2 separate regions of the Homo sapiens genome follow, and region 1 is linked to region 2. The links are contacts of gene promoters, found by promoter capture Hi-C in blood cells and fetal thymus (Javierre and others, 2016). All regions are on one chromosome and are shown on one strand. The core of a region is centred on a gene start or on the middle of the fragment in contact, and the rest is flanking DNA. Distances in the headings are between cores, read along the strand shown.

Region 1 (2,726 bases), core at 185-2,684, 3.4 Mb after region 2:
TCTGTCATTTAGAACAATTCCTTAGCCACCAGTGCCAGTTTTTTCCATTTCTTGACTGGGAATAAGATCTATCTTTTTACCCACTAAGAGTGTCTTTAATACTATAATGGCTGTGCAAATGCTTTGAAAATATGAAGTCTACAAAATTCGACTTTTTTTTTTTACAAAAGTCAGCATGTGAAGGCAAAAACTTACAAACAAGTCAGAGATAACATACAAAACTTCAACATAGGATTGGTTTACTTCTTGGGTGAATGTAAAATAGTACATTAAATATATATCTATCATTTAATGGAAGATATATGTATATCTCTTCCAATGAGCAAGTATTTAGTGAATGCTGCCTTTGTGCTCAGCACTGGGATGTTGGCTGAAGCAAAATCAGATATATGGAGGCATGCATGTGATAGAGGAAGTAATATTTGATGAGCCCTTATATATGCCAAGGGCTTTACATATATTATTGAATCCTCACAACAACCCAATGAACTAGGTTTTATTATCCCATTTTCCCAGAGAAGATTCTGAGACTCAAAAGTTGATTAATTTCTTCAGTCACAGCAAGTAAATGGGAGAGTATTTACACCCAAGCTTTATTGAGCTCAAAAGTATGTGCCCTTTCCATTGTACAATGATGACACTGTTTCAAAGCTCAAGATGCTTATATTCAAACTCAAGAAACAATATGACCACAGTGATCAGCACTCAATATATACAAAAAGAGCTAAATGTTTTGTATAAAATAAGTACTAGATAAGTTTAAAAAGACAGATTAGTAGGTTAAGGTGGTAAGGAAGGATTTCATGGCAGATAGGGACCTTAAGTTGGGTCTTGAGGTACAAATATATTTGAATAGCTAAAAGGAAGACAACAGAATGAGCAAAAACCAGGAAGCTAATGATCATGTCTGTCTATGGAGGGCAACAGCTCAGGAGGTAAGAATGGCAGTGTCTAAGGAGGAAATGTGGCCTACTTTCATGGCATTATATTATTTTCTTCTAAAAAAAGAAGGTGTGATTAGATAGAAGCAGAAACTTGTCTTTGGACATTCAAAGGCTGGGCATTCATAGGGCTGGGCTTAGTGGGGTGCCATACTTAGTTTAATGCTCTGTTCTCATCCTCTTGAAATTCTCAGTTTTTGAACAAGGGACTGTACATTTTCATTTTGCAATGGATCTTGCAAATTGTGTAGCTGATTCTGTTTCCAATGTATGGCATCTTATAGACCGTAAGTTTGAAACAAATGGTTCTCAAACTTAAGCATGCGTCTGAATCACTTGGAGAGGGAAGCCTTCCAGTAAGCAAATGAGCAATATCACTTATCAGGTAGTATTTGTAATACTTATAAGGGCAGTGACAAGGATAAGTTATTAACCAGATAAGAAAACCTTGGCACCAGAAAACTTAGATGATGTATCCAAAATCATCTAGTTAAGGTTGGAATTGAAACCAGGTCTTTCGTAGTCTGAAACATGCTTTTTAAATTTACACCAATGTGTCTCAAACTTTAGCGCAGAATCACCTGGACAGCTTCTTAAAGAACAAATTGCTGCTTTTGCTTCCATGGCTCTCAGTAAGTCTGGGGTACAGGTTAAGAATTTTTATTTTTAACAAGTCCCAGATGACGCAGATGCTACTGGCCCTGGGACCGCATTTTGAGAATTGCTGTTATAGAGGAAAAATTAGTAAACTGAGCTTCCCTTACTACTAAGATGTACAGATTTATTGTTATGCTTTACTTCTGTCTGTTTTTTTTTTTTTTTTTTTTTTGACAGAGACTTACTCTGTCATCCAGGCTGGCAGGCTGGAGTGCAGTGGTGTGATCTTGGCTCACTGCAAACTCTGCCTCCCGGGTTCAAGCAATTCTGCTTCAGCCTCCTGAGTAGCTGGGATTACAGGTCTGCACCACGAAACCTCACTAATTTTTGTATTCTTAGAAGAGATGGGGTTTCACGATGTTGGCCAGGCTGGTCTTGAACTCCTGAGCTCAAGTGATCTGCCACCTTGGCCTCCCAAAGTAATAAGATTACAGGTGTGAGCAACTGCACCTGGCCACCCTTCATCTCTTAATAAAATCCAGATGTTCCAGGAATAACTTAAACGACTATGTTTTGTTTTTCTATGAACTTATAATCGTTAATATTTATTATAATTAGTACATTTTCTGAAAAACTAAGTATTGAATGCAGACTTTTTTTGGGGAAAAGGAAATTATAACTTGGCTTGTTTGCACTTATTTATAAAACTGAGAGGGGAAGAAAACAAAATCAAGCTTTATCTCACAATTATTTGCCACCTATAATATCCCTAAAATATCAGAAGAAACAGATTTGCGCCAGTGTCGACAATTTTGACATGTTTATAACACAAGAAGATAAAAATGTCACTTTCTTAAAGGAGTTGCCTCCTGTTAACTCCAGTTTAAAAAGCTGGATTATTTTCATGGTTCATTTGCAGCCTAGAATGTAAGACTTAGATTTAGAATAACATTCAAAAATATGAATGATCCAGACCTTTGTCTAGGAAATAGAAAAGCATATTATGGAGCAATTTGATGCTTCAAATCATCAGACGATGCCATAAATTCTATCCAATCGATTTTGCAAAACTAATTGGAATCAACGGTGCAACCAGTATTAGCTTTTAAAGATTTTTTTTTCAAGGATAGGATGATTAAATCCAAAGGTGAACTGCATAGAGGTTTCCACCTATATTGCTATCTGGAC
Region 2 (3,099 bases), core at 529-3,028:
AATGCCACTTTTTCAAATCAGGGTTATGTTAAGCACCACTATCAAACAGATGTGCAGTCGTCATACGTCAAACTCTTGTCTCTAGGTGCAAACTTTAAAATAAATAGAAGTTATCTTACTGTTTCAAAACTTCAGTTAGTCATATATTGCAACAGGAAAAAATTGACAAACTTGATGTTTTGCATACTAATCTTCCAAAAATATGCCCTAAATATGCCACTGATAGGAAAATTAAAACTCATTTTATTACTAGGTGAATGTTTTACTTTGAAAATGAAACTGTAGGTGTGTCTCAGACTTTAGGCTAAGCTTAAATCTCCAGAAGCTGCAATGCACCTTGGATTTACTAATGAAAATATATTTTTATATTGAAGGTTCAATCAAAGTATTATTTGGTCACATAATTTTTACAATCCTTTCTAGTTTGTATCTGTTTCTCTTCATAATTCATGGATACTATGCTTCTTTGTGTTCTCAAATTCCCCAGGTTCCTGTTATTTGTTCTCTTTCATTTTAGAAATGCTGCACACACCAGGTTGCTATTACCTCACCTTCTCACTTCTGGATCTTATTTCTGAATTACCTGTCCCCCTCATTTTCACCCCTTCTTTACGGGTTTCACCTTTCACGTGATAGCTTCTGTTTTTCAGACCTCATTTTTAAAGACGGCACAACAACACTTTAATGATCAGATACTTAAACCTTTGCTTTCGTGTAAATATCTTTGCTCTTGCAGATTTTGTGCTTTGCTTTGTATGTATTAGAATAACAATATGAAAGAAAACCAGTTTTCCAAAGGTAGGAAGAATTTCCCTCTTTGAGTGACAGCTGCAGATAAATAATTAAGGTGCTTCTGGGGATGCCAATTAGAAGCAATTATCATTTGACCCGCCTTGGCTCTAAAATGCCTCGGTAATCTCCCTCTGTCACAGGAAAGTGGAGGTCTGGCTTCTGTGATTACGACGCCGATCTCTTCCAGACTTGAGAACAAGCAGTCAAAGAAATGATGCCCTTTCCGATGCTTACATCTGTCACTCACTCTTGCGTTAGCCAAGTCACACACGGTCAACCTGCAAAGTTCAACCTACGTAGCCTTGACATCGCAGGTTGCTTTAATTCCTCCAAAAATCAAGTTGTGATTTTGGTATCTCTAAAAATCAAAAATCAAATTGTTTTTATTTTCTCCTGATCTATTTTGAAAGTGCCCCCAAATACGGTTTCAGTGGCTGGGACATCGCCTGTCGCCCAGACGCTGCCGTTCGCGCGTCCAACTGTGACAGCCAGGACCCTCCCTCGCCAACTCCTGCGCTCTGCCTTTCAGTGGCGTCTCCCATCCTGGCTACTCCACCCCTACGGTGAAAATCCACATCCCTTGCCCCATCCCAACTCACGCTCTGCGAGCGCCCACCACTCAAACTTTCTCAGGCCAAACTTTCCCTCTCTACCTAGATGCTGCGGAGACCAGCCTCGGGATTTCCAGGGAGCCACGCATTCACAAAGCTACCCCAAGCTCCCGAGCTGCGGGCCGCTCCCGCGGAGCCCGCGCTCACCCCGAGTAATTGTTCTCGCTCCCCACGTCGATGGTCTCGTCCATGTCGCTCTCGGAGGTCGTCTCCTCGCAGGGGCGCTTCATCCCGGCGAAGACCGCGCGGGGCACAGCCCGGCCGGAAGCTCGGACGCCGAGCGGGGCGCAGCACCCTGACGCCCGCCTCCTCCCTCCCCGGGCCTGGGCAGGCGCGGCTCCGGCGGCGGCGCGGTCTGCTCCTAGCGGCTCTTTCCCACGCCGCAACTCTGCTCGGCCGCAAGAGCCGGCGCCGGCCACGCCCCCCCCTCGAGCGGGTGGGGCCACCTCACCCGCCCCCGCGCACCGGCCCAGGCCTTCCGCCCGGCACCTCCCCCTCGCTGGTCGGCGTGGCTCGCGATTGGCTGGGCCAGGGGGCGGGGCCGCGCTCGCCAATGCCCGCCGCAAGGCTCCAGCCGAGGCGTGGGAACGCGGCCGCGGACCTGGTACCCCAGAGCAGCGAGCGGGTGGGGAGCAGCCGGGGCGAGAATGAGCGCAATCTTGCTAACCCCTGCGGAGGGAGCGCGCGGGCGCCAACGCGGGCGCGCGGGGGCGGGCCCTGGACCTGGACCTTGGGTTTCGGCCCTCCTCCGCGCCCCGCGGTCTCGCGGGCGAAGTTTCAGTCCTGAGTGTAAAGAATAACCCCAAGCGCGTGGCTAAGTGCGAGCAGGCGCGTGTGACGTCGGGAGGCGCCGCGGCTCCTCGGCCGCCCCACTCGGTGGTCCCCTGTCTGGATCCAAACTGCTGACTGGCTGACCCGAGTGGTCACATTTGCCCTCTGGGGCTTTTGAAAACCTTAAATCAAAATTGCTTTTGAATCTGACAACTCCTGAGGCTACTTTCGCGGCCTCGGGGCTGTTTCATATAAGGACGCGAGTTTTCCTGATCAGGTCTGTCGGCCACGTTACGATTTCCAATTTGCGATCCATCAGTTACTTCCATTGGGTCTTCAGCCCCCAGGGACTGTGGATCCTAGACCCCGCGGAGAAGCCCGTGGACTGGAGCTGTGTCAGCTCTGATGGTAGGAAAGACTAGATCAATGACGCGGGCATTTCAGGACATAATCGTATATTTTCAAGTTCGAGTTTTTCGGGCTTGGATTATCCAGATAATTGCCTCCAGTCTCCTCCAGTCCCCCTGGTGTATGCACTCGCAGCCGCAGAGTTAGAGTCCGGGAGGTGAAGATTGGCGCTTGGAAATTAGATTTGGTTTCTAAAGTATGAATTCGTGTCCAACAGTTCGTGCCTTGGACAACGTGGGTTGTATAAAACTCAAGCTGTGTGTTTAAAACAGGTTTTCTAGCTGCTGGTTCTCTCCAAGTTATGTAGGACTTTTGAACTGGCCACCCCGCTGTGCGTCTGCGAGGGCAGGGACTGAGCGAGACCCAGCCAGGGGCGCCGGGAGACTGGCGGCGGCTGGGTTGGGGTCCAGCCGGAAACCACACGTTGGCAGGGCCGCTTGGTCAGTAGTGGAGAGAGCCTCTGAGAAAGGGCCGTCTATCGATCCCCAGACCCCTCCGTCACGGAGGGATTCATAGC

The links. Contacts are between HindIII fragments. The CHiCAGO score rates a contact against its expected background, and 5 or more counts as called.
Region 1: a fragment that was not itself captured here is called in contact with the fragment with the promoter of HEY2 in region 2 in 1 of 17 cell types (total B cells); the score reaches 5.0 in total B cells.

Annotation. Positions count from the first base shown.
Region 1 is chr6:122,396,042-122,398,767 of GRCh38, reverse strand. No RefSeq gene overlaps it. Among named protein-coding and RNA genes, the nearest start is that of HSF2, 2.2 kb to the left of the region's middle. The HindIII fragment of the contact is 1,681 bases long and covers 594-2,274 here.
Region 2 is chr6:125,748,311-125,751,409 of GRCh38, reverse strand. HEY2 (hes related family bHLH transcription factor with YRPW motif 2) reads right to left here and starts at 1,778. Exons shown (of 5, transcript NM_012259.3): 1 at 1,551-1,778. The coding sequence starts at 1,633. HEY2-AS1 (HEY2 antisense RNA 1) reads left to right here and starts at 1,985. Exons shown (of 5, transcript NR_183491.1): 1 at 1,985-2,451. RefSeq lists a silencer at 1,560-2,269. The HindIII fragment of the contact is 5,509 bases long and covers 312-3,099 here.